Regions from separate parts of the Homo sapiens genome. Here region 1 is linked to region 2. Evidence: promoter capture Hi-C in human tissues and cell types (Jung and others, 2019). All regions are on one chromosome and are shown on one strand. Each heading gives the region's core, a stretch centred on a gene start or on the middle of the fragment in contact. The rest is flanking DNA. Distances are from core to core; before and after follow the strand shown.

The links. The method cuts DNA at HindIII sites, captures the fragments that hold promoters and counts their contacts. A contact is called where the count stands out against the background at its distance.
Region 1: a contact is called between a fragment that was not itself captured here and the fragment with the promoter of B3GNT7 in region 2, in 2 of the 25 tissues and cell types used here (H1 embryonic stem cells and lymphoblastoid cells).

Annotation. Positions count from the first base shown.
Region 1 is chr2:231,091,302-231,096,445 of GRCh38, forward strand. The region is part of intron 16 of PSMD1 (proteasome 26S subunit, non-ATPase 1); the gene reads left to right. Among named protein-coding and RNA genes, the nearest start is that of HTR2B, 31 kb to the right of the region's middle. The HindIII fragment of the contact is 5,322 bases long and covers 1-4,543 here.
Region 2 is chr2:231,393,507-231,398,882 of GRCh38, forward strand. It overlaps B3GNT7 (UDP-GlcNAc:betaGal beta-1,3-N-acetylglucosaminyltransferase 7), which reads left to right and starts at 2,204. Exons shown (of 2, transcript NM_145236.3): 1 at 2,204-2,308; 2 at 4,225-5,376. The coding sequence starts at 2,298. RefSeq lists enhancers at 1-408, 409-990, 1,286-1,335, 3,604-4,803, 3,746-3,815 and 1 more and a silencer at 1,886-2,355. The HindIII fragment of the contact is 23,756 bases long and covers 1-5,376 here.

The sequences.
Region 1 (5,144 bases), core at 633-3,132, 300 kb before region 2:
TACATTCCCTTGTTATGTAACCCTTGCTCTTAAGAGAATTTAACTGCCTTCAGCTAAATCCTCTTGAAGCTTTTGCAAAACCTCCCGGCCTTCCAATAAGGTTTGCATCTTTCCCTATAATTTTTATAACTTTTCCCACCACCCTGACTGATCTCCTACATCTCCTCCTTCCTTTTCTGCTTTTTACATCAGGTTTTGTTAATTGAAGAGTACAGATGTGTGCAGCAGCAGATTTGTTAGGCATAGTGGTTATAACTCGTTTTCCAGCTTTGCATCCTAGAATTAGTAAATAGCATAAGACAAACATGAGTATAATCAGTAACATTCTTTTCCAACAAGAATTGACCCCCAGGAGTGGGGGTCTATCCAGGAGAGATGTTATCTCACATCCTTCCATATGGCTGTTTGTTGGGCGTGTAGATCTACGGTGTTTAGGGATTCTAGAATTTTAGTTTTAAGTTGTCTTAAGTCTGCTGTTAAATTATCATATAAGGTTCCCCAGGGGTGTTGTTTCACCTCATCCCAACTATGTATTGGTTGATTCCAAGGTAGGGAGGTGACACAGATACACTTATGCTCCCAGTCACAGTTTAAGTGCTGTCGGAATGCCAGCGCATCTTGCTGCTCCCCTGTATATTCTAAGGCAGCCTCAGGGGCTTGCAGGCGTGCAAGAATCTTTTGATCTGTACCCTGCTCTAAGAGAAGTTCATTAGACACATTTTTGGCCAAGTTACCTACAAAGGTAGCTGTTTTTACAGATTCAGTAATAGAGGCCACAGCAATACTAGCAGTTGCTAAGATGACTATGGCTGAGACTATAAAGGTTTTATAAGTGTGCCTATGAATCTTTTGGGTCTGACCTGGGACGGGGCATGTTCTCAGGTGGCAAGAGCAGAGGAACCTTGCCAATCACGTGTCAAATTGGTGGGAATGCTTCAGATTGTCTCCTTAATACCATGATACTAGTAATATTTAAATTAGATATAATTAGTGACGCATGAGGCAAACCAAACCTGTCCCTGCACTCGGGTCACAAACGTGGAGTTTTGGGGTGTAATGGAAATATTGGTTCCCATAAGGAAAACATATGGATGGGTAGTGCAAATCAGGCACTGATCTGTGTGATTATGAATAAAGGTCACAGTATAGTTGTTACTGGAATTATGGTATGTCCCATACCAGGTGTAAAGGGAGATGCTAAGATGTCCCAGGCACCATAAAGTGTCTTGGGGTGGCATGGACTCTCCTTGGGATCTGGGATATCCCGTCCCTCCATCGGCCCAAATTGTACGGGAATGAGACGTGGCTGCAAAACTGTGATTGATGCCACGATGGATGAGGACATCAGTATGGTTGCTCTGCAAGTGTCAGTGGGGGCTCTAGTCTAAGATGTTATAATAGCCTAAATGGAGTCTACGGGCTTGTCCTCCATGACAGACCTCCCAGCCAAAGTGGAATCCATTACTTTCCTGGCTATGTTCTTTAGCACAGGAAGGAATGTTGGGGAAAGTGGCGTTGGTTGCATTGCCCGGTTTGAGGCTATCTGCAACCAAGAATGTTAAGGCATTTCCTTTGCCATGATATAGCCATACTTGAGTTTGGGCAGGTACACAGTAAGGATTGGAACTTTTATAACTAATGCACAGTGGGAGGATAGTGGAGTGATATATAGTGTTACCTGGCATCTTAATCCAATGTGTGCCATTAATGAGGGACCCCACTGGGGGTAAGTCAATCCCTCCTAGCCAAGCAGTTATGTTATTAGAGGTTGGGAAGGGGGTGTCTGCCCAAGTAACAGGGCAAAAGAAAAGCAGATCTAAGCCAAGCAATTATGTTATTAGAGGTTGGGAAGCGGGTGTCTGCTCAAGTAACAGGGCAAAAGAAAAGCAGATCTAAGAGATGAGCCCAATAGAGAGTAGCAGGTGCAGGTTGCAGGCAGAGTGAGAGATTAAGAAGGGTTAATACCCTATGAGAGTTGCAGTGTACAACAGAAGGCATAGCAAGGAACAAATTATGTGGAGTGAATGGTGTCTGTGTCTGGAGCAGGATTCGCTCAGCCTCCTGAGTTGTCTTCTTCAGCATCCCCCAGGTAAAGTCCGGGGCTTGTGTCATCCTAGGAAGCCGCGTCGTCCGGGGCTGCTGGTCCTGCAGGGACATTTCCTTCATTTCTGGTACCAGGTTGGGTCCTAGCCACACCATGGTATGATTTGATGTATCGTGCTAGAATCCAGAGAGGACCTGAGGGGGTGTGAACACAAGCATATCCTCTTTCCCATGTAAGCAAATCATTTGGACCACACCATACATTACTATTTACATTTTTCCATTAAACTGCAGGTTTTATGTCTTGAGAGGTTTTAGCAAAGTGCTTTTCTATGGCTGAAATTTATCATCTAAATTTTAAAAATTAAGGGTAAATAAGGCTTGTGCCAGTAGTGTTGCCAGGTTCTTACCCATATTCCCCCTTTTTTGTTTTTTTGAGCATATTTTTAAGAGTGGAATGGGTATGTTCTACTGTCCTTGGGGGTTATACGAGATGCCTGTGGAATGTTGGATGTTCCACGTGTGACAAAATTGTTGAAATTGTGAGCTGGCATAAGCCAGACCATTATCAGTTTTAATTTTTGTGGGCCGCCCTATAAATGCAAAAGTTAAGAGTAGATGTTTAATAATATATTGGGTGGACTCTCCAGGAAAAGTATGTGCACTAATTAACTGAGAATTGGCATCAATGGATACATGTACATATCTTTGTTTTCTAAATTTAGGATGTGAGTAACATCTGTTTGCCATAACTGATTAGGTTCTAGTCCTCTAGGGTTAACACCTGTTGGAGGGGCGGTGCCGTCCTCTAGGGTTAACACGTGTTGAAGGAGGGGAGGTGCCTGTGAGCTGGCAATCTGGGCATTGCAGGATAATTTCTTTAGCTAGCCTTTGGGTGAGTTTAAATTGTTTAGTTAAATTACTCCAATTTTGGTGGAAAAATTGATGCAATTGGGTGGCTTGGTCAAGCAGTGACGTCATAACTTGCATATCTGCTTGTTCATTGCCATAAGCCAATGGGCCAGGCAGTGAGCTGTGGGCTCCAATATGTGTGATTAGAAATAGGATGTGTACGTTGATCCAGCAATTGCTGAAGTCAAAGAAAAAGTGCACACAGGGTGGGCTCGAGAATGGACTTGAGGGCTGTTTCAAGGTTCTGCAATAAATAAACAGAGTAAGCAGGGTCACTAACAATATTGATGGGCTGAGCAGAAAAAGTTTCCAGTGCCAGTATTAAGGCTCCAGCCTTAGCTGTCTGAGTGCTAGTAAATCCAGAATGAGTAAGGGAATTATGTGGTTTCTACCAAATTGCCACTTTTCCATTTTTACCAGAACCGTCAGTAAAAAGCATTAAAGCGTTGGGTATGGGGGAGTGAACTACTTTTATAGGCACAACTACAGAAGTATGAGATAAGAACTGAATTAAGTTTGTCAGCAGGAAGGGCATGCTCTATATGGCCTGTATAATCAGAAAGTGCTATTTGCAGGTCTAGAGATAAGGGCAATACTGCTTTGAATTGCTTTTTACTTGAAGGAATTCTATGACATCAGGGTCATAACCTAGTGACTGATTGCATTGTCTGCAGCTTGTATAGTTGACTTTATTAACTAGCTGGATATAGGGAGATAGTGTTTTAGTCCAGGTATGTGAGCAAAAAATCCATTCCAGGAAGCGTAGCCCTGGGGCCATTTGTCCTATTAACCCTGTCGGGAGTGTTTAGTAGGAAAAACAAACAATTGAACTGAATAATTTGGGTCTATGCGATTTAGTTGCCTCTGAGAAATAGCTTGCTCTATTTCCTCAATTCCCCTTTTTGCTGCAGGAGTTAAATACCTGGGAGAGTCTGGGGCTGTATTGCCCTTTAGGATGGAAAACAGGTTTTGCAGCTTATCAGTAGTCATGCCCAAGGTGGGACGAAGCCAATTAATATTGCCCAATAATTTTTGATAATCATTTAAGGTGTATAAGTTGCTAGTATTTAATTTAACCTTTTGAAGTCTTATTGACCAGGAAATTAGCATGTATCCAAGATATTTCCAAGGAGAGGACATTTGCACATTTTTAGGTGCTATGTTTAAACCTCTTAGCTGTGTATTCTTTATGACAGAGGCATATAAACTTAAATGCCTTTGTTGGGGCTGCTAGTAAATATCATCCATAAAATGAATAATCTTGCAAGTAGGAACTTCTTTTCTACTGGGGAGCAAAGCTTGATTGACATGATACTGACACATGGTAGGACTATTTAGCATCCCTTGAGGAAACACTTTCCAATGAAATCAGCTAGCTGACCTTTCATTATTGATAGCTGGTATGGTAAATGCAAATTTTTCTCTGTCCTGTTCTGCAAGGGGAATAGTATAAAAGCGGTCTTTTAAGTCAATAACGGCTAAAGGCCAATCTTGAGGAATCGCTGCGGGGGAAGGGAGGCCCTGTTGAGGCCCCATGGGTTGCAAATTAGCATTAATAGCCTGTAAGTCATGCAGAAGTCTCCATTTGCCAGACCTTTTGGGAATGACGAAAATGGGTGAATTCCGAGGGCTGTTTGACAATTCTATATGGCCAGCTTTTAATTGCTCCTCAACTAATTCATGGGCTCTTTGTAATTTCTTTCCCTTTAAAGGCCACTGTTCTACCCAAGTTGGATCTTGAGAGAGCCATGTTAAGGGTAGGGGAGGAATAATAACAGTGGCCATTATTAGAAAGAGGTCTGCAGAGTGACCTCAAACCTCTTGTAAATGGGCTAGCGGCTCCGTTCTTTCTAATGCTTTTTCTTATCTCTTTATAAGCTTTAAAATAAATGGGTTCATGTACCTGATTGCCTTGTTGATCTTGCATTACCAGGCAGGCTAAGAGCTCCCCTTCTAATGCTGCTTGCCTAAGACAGAATCCCATAGCTGTAGGATATCCCTTGTCTTTTTTCCAATTTATTGGAGGAGGGGACTCAGGCAAAACCTCCATTTCCTTTTTGTTATTTTTTTCTGTTAATGGCGGGGCTGAGGGAGATGGAGTCGGTAAGGTAGGTGATGGTTCCTCTTCCCTACCCTTTTTAGGCACTTCTGTGTATAGCAGGACCAAAGCAGCCCTGACTAAGGCCCAT
Region 2 (5,376 bases), core at 954-3,453:
CAAACTGCCTGTCTCAACTGACCAGATTCCACTGGCAAACACTCCGCTGACCTTGGGCAGCTCCCTCTGCTCCCACCTCCTCTGGCCCTTGTGCTTCTGGGGCTTTGTGGAGTAGCTGGACATCAATGATAACACTAACAGTAGCCGGCCTGCCACCAAGTTCTTTACATAGGGGATGCCTATGTCTGTGCTTCATTGGCGTCATCTCACAAGGCCCTGAGCTGGCAGGAAATTGAGGTCTCAAGGGGAAAAGCCACCTGCCCCCAGTGACAACCAGGAAGTGCAAGACTCTGACCCAACGCCCATGCCTGCCATCCCCAAACATGGGCTCAAAACCCCCTTCCCAGGGACGGCTGTGTCCACCCCTCAGCAGGAGGAGGAGACCCCACAGCACCGGGTGAGAGGTCAGTGCTGAAGCCAGGGAGGCAGCTCTCAGCAGGGCACCTGTGTGGAGCCAGGGAAGCCAGGGCCACACTTGCAGGGTGAAGTGGGGAACTCGGAAGGCTGGGCAGTGGAGCAAAATGCTTGGTGCCCTGCGGGAACCGGTGGCCAAGGCTACACTGGGATGAAGGGAGCCGTGGAGCTGCAGAATCTGCGGGTGGCCCTCAGTGGCAGGCAGCCAGGCCAACAGGGGCTTTGGGCTGCAGGTCAGCCCCTCCCCTGCTCTGGAACTTTTGGAGGGCCATTACAAAGGACATCAGCCCCAAGATACTCCTCTGAAATTCTGCCTGAAAGGCCCTTCACATTCCCTAATTGGCACTTACAACATTCCAGAACATTCTATGGTACCTTAAGTTTCTCCTCCCCCTCCAAAGGGCCCTTGAACCTTAAGGATAGGGCAGAAGGGGCTCCTCACCCTGGCCTCGAGGGCTTAAGATCCAGCTGAGGACTCCTAGCCTCCCTGTGTGCTGGGCAGGAAAGTAGCTCCATGTCACTGCTGTCCCTGGGAAAGGAAAAAAGGTTGAGGAAGGGCTCAGAGCCAGCCTTCAGACCAGGCAGGAAGGGTTCAGAGCCAGCCTTCAGGCCATGCAGGCCTCCTGGATGTGCTTACTAACTCTGGGCTCGCTGTTCTCTGAGCTGGCTGGGAGTTCCCCTCTGCACCCCCGTTTCCTCCCCTGTAAGGTGGGAATAATAGCGTATGTCTCTAGGATTAAGTGAGCCAGTCATGCATGGGCCGAGAACCAGGTTTGGCATATTGTAGCTGCTCAGTGGACGTTAGCTGTTATGATTGGACCACAACGTGCTTCCGTTTCAATTCTGTGGGCCTTTTGGAGGTCCTGCTGGATGCTAAGCACCGAAACCTCAACCCGGAACAAGACCAGAACAACCTGAGCAACAACAGGACCAGCGATGGCTCTCCCTGCTGGAGGATTCTGGAAGTCACCTGGCTGGACCAAGCCCTCTCCGTGTTCTCTGTCAGCCCACTCCCCAGAGCCGCTAGGCCTGATGTGCACAAGCAGACTAATAAAGGCTTGAGGACAAAAAGGGTTTTGAGTGATAAGTGAAAAAAGAAAGGAGATAGGGCTGGGCCAACAGGCCTTCCCTTGGTGGTGGGGAGCCCTCAGAGGTGGGAGGAACCCCAGAGGTGAAGAGAGGGACATGGTGGGGGCACAAAAAAAGCTTCCAGAGCCACAGGCCTGGGCGAGTCCTGACATGGAGCCCAGTCTCATACGGCCTCTTTCCCTAGTGGCTGGCTTTGCTCCTGGCCCTAGGTAGCCCAACAGCTGGGCAAGGGGTCCGTCTGGTCAGGGGAAAGGTGCAGGGGCAGAAGGTAGCAGAGGGAGAAAAGGACACCCTGTCTGCCTCTGGCCCCAAAGACAAGTCCGAATGGGGCCAGAGGGAAATGGCTGGGCCTTGGGGTGCCCCAGGGTCTTGGAGGGGACCGGGTGTTCAGGTTTCGCACAAGTACAGGAGGGACCGGCGACCGCCCTCCCCCCGCCCCGGGAGGCTCCGCCAGGGACAGGCGTCCCCGGGATTGGAGGTGACCCCCGTGGGTTCCGAAGCCCCGCCTCGGCCATGCACTGTCTACTAGGCGCGCTTGGGGAGCCTAGGGGCCGTCTCGGAGAAATGGGGTGGTCCCCGCCAGGCGGCGGCGGGGCGGGCCCTGGGCGCCGAAGGGGTTAAGGCACCTGGGCCACCGCCCCTGCCGGCCCCTCCTCCCGCGGCCGGGAAGAGGAAAGTCGCGGCGGGGGCGCGGCCCGGTCTCCGTCCCCACCCGCCCGCCGTCCCGCCGGCCCGAGCCGTGGCGCCCAGAGCTGCGAGCCGCTCGCCCCTCCGCCGCTCCGGCCCGGGCCGCCATGTCGCTGTGGTGAGTGGGGCTGGGGGCCGTCGGGGGCCTGGGCGGGGGCGTGGGCCCGGGGCTCCCCCTCCTCCGTGGCCACAGACGGGCGCCGGGACTCCCGGGATAGGAGATGCCCCCGCGCGCGCCGCGCCGGCCTCAGTTTCCCGGGGGCGGATGGGCGGGCGGGCGCGGCGGCGGCGGCGGGAGATGTTCGCGGTACGCGGCCCCGGACCCGTGGGGGACGTCGAGGGGTCTCGGGGCGCCGCGCTCAGCTCCCCGGCCCCGCGGCCCTGGACACCGCTCCAGGACCCTGGCGGCTGGGACCCCAGGTCTTGCCGGCAGCTGGGTCCCCTCTCCCTTCCAGACCCCTGAGGGCCCCCTGCGTCCGGGCCACTCTCCTCCTCTCGGGGCTTCCTTCCGCGGGACCTCGGACCGCCGCCCGCCCGGCCCCTCTCCGCCCCTCCCGGGCTTTCCCTACGAATGGAGCGGACCCGGCAGGTGGAGCGCCCGCAGCCCAGGGCCTCGCCGCCTTCCCGGTGCACCCCCCGACCTCCCCCGTCCCGGCCTCGGTGGGCGGCTTCCCTGGAACCCCTAGGGCTGGCAGGGCCGGATCCGGAGCCCTCCGTTTCCTCCCCGGAGAGCTGGACCTTGGGTCACACCCCCCAGCCTGCACCTAAGGTGCCCCTGTCTTCCTCCAACCACATGCCCCAGCAACCTGGGGACCCTATGGGGAAAATGTCGCTCTATGGGGCTCAGCCTGCATTCACCCTGGGGCCTGGACCTGCAACCGGACCAGCCCTCAGGGCAACCCAGGCGTCTCCACGGGCTGCCTGTCTCTCCTGGCACCCTGCTCCTCCCCCTTGGAGGTCAGCGCCATCTCTCTGCTAGGCTGGCCCTGGAAGGCCACTCTGCTGTCCCCAGAGCTCTCAGCCCCCAGGTCTCCACTGGGGAGGGTGGGGCAGGTGTCCTGGCAGCCCCCGGAGGGTGAGATGAAGAGAGGAGGTCCTTCAGGACAGGGGCTCAGGCCCCAGGGCTTGGGACGACCAGCACTCCTGGCAGAGAGCTCTAATTTCTGCTTCCGAAATGGGTGTGGACCGGGGTTGGGGTGGGGGGGTCTCTGGGCAAGAAGGGTCCCTCAAGGGCTGGAGCTGCAAATGTGCCCCCTCCCAGGGAGTAGAGCTGTAGCCTCATGTCTTCTAATGGGGTGTTATGAGCTGGGGATGTTAAGGTAGGGGTGAGGGGCAGTGCCATGCTAGAGGTGCTCACTGCATCCTTGGGCCTCCATCAACCATGAGGGCTGCTCTTTGTTGGGTGAGACAGACTGGAGAAGGGGGAGGAGGGCCAGTCTTCCTCAGGTCCCAAGCTCGAGCCACTCTCCAATGTGCCCCACATGTGATGGAGCTCCCGGGCGGCACAGAGGATCAGAGGGTGCCCTCTCAATGACTCTGGCTCTGAGTCACCTAATGATACCGATACCTACTGCTGTGGGTAGGTACACCGCAGGGAAATGAAAGGCATTGGGGTTCCAGGCGTGGGGAACAGGGCAGAGGTTTCCACCTGAGGCCCTCCTGTTAAGGTGACAGCATTCCCCTAACTGTGCACCCGCTGCCTGGTACTTTATATAGCACTCCAATCCTGTGTTTTAGCCCCATTTGGGGGAAGAAGAAATCGTGGCTCAGAGTGGTTGTAAACCACTCATTCAGCTTGTAAGCGTCAGGGCCTGATTCCACAGTGCTCCTTGAGGAGAGGGCAGGGTGGGAGAAAGAAAGGGCAGGGTGGGAGAGGAAGCGGGACCCTACCCTGACAGCTTAGGGACTCCGGGACTGAGCCTGTGCCCAGGTCCACTTGCCCGTCTGGGACCACCCAGCCTCCCAAGGGGGGCGCCAGGAGAGCCCTGGGCTCATCTTTTCTCTCTCCTCTGTACTGTCCGCTCTCCCCCACAGGAAGAAAACCGTCTACCGGAGTCTGTGCCTGGCCCTGGCCCTGCTCGTGGCCGTGACGGTGTTCCAACGCAGTCTCACCCCTGGTCAGTTTCTGCAGGAGCCTCCGCCACCCACCCTGGAGCCACAGAAGGCCCAGAAGCCAAATGGACAGCTGGTGAACCCCAACAACTTCTGGAAGAACCCGAAAGATGTGGCTGCGCCCACGCCCATGGCCTCTCAGGGGCCCCAGGCCTGGGACGTGACCACCACTAACTGCTCAGCCAATATCAACTTGACCCACCAGCCCTGGTTCCAGGTCCTGGAGCCGCAGTTCCGGCAGTTTCTCTTCTACCGCCACTGCCGCTACTTCCCCATGCTGCTGAACCACCCGGAGAAGTGCAGGGGCGATGTCTACCTGCTGGTGGTTGTCAAGTCGGTCATCACGCAGCACGACCGCCGCGAGGCCATCCGCCAGACCTGGGGCCGCGAGCGGCAGTCCGCGGGTGGGGGCCGAGGCGCCGTGCGCACCCTCTTCCTGCTGGGCACGGCCTCCAAGCAGGAGGAGCGCACGCACTACCAGCAGCTGCTGGCCTACGAAGACCGCCTCTACGGCGACATCCTGCAGTGGGGCTTTCTCGACACCTTCTTCAACCTGACCCTCAAGGAGATCCACTTCCTCAAGTGGCTGGACATCTACTGCCCCCACGTCCCCTTCATTTTCAAAGGCGACGATGACGTCTTCGTCAACCCCACCAACCTGCTAGAATTTCTGGCTGACCGGCAGCCACAGGAAAACCTGTTCGTGGGCGATGTCCTGCAGCACGCTCGGCCCATTCGCAGGAAAGACAACAAATACTACATCCCGGGGGCCCTGTACGGCAAGGCCAGCTATCCGCCGTATGCAGGCGGCGGTGGCTTCCTCATGGCCGGCAGCCTGGCCCGGCGCCTGCACCATGCCTGCGACACCCTGGAGCTCTACCCGATCGACGACGTCTTTCTGGGCATGTGCCTGGAGGTGCTGGGCGTGCAGCCCACGGCCCACGAGGGCTTCAAGACTTTCGGCATCTCCCGGAACCGCAACAGCCGCATGAACAAGGAGCCGTGCTTTTTCCGCGCCATGCTCGTGGTGCACAAGCTGCTGCCCCCTGAGCTGCTCGCCATGTGGGGGCTGGT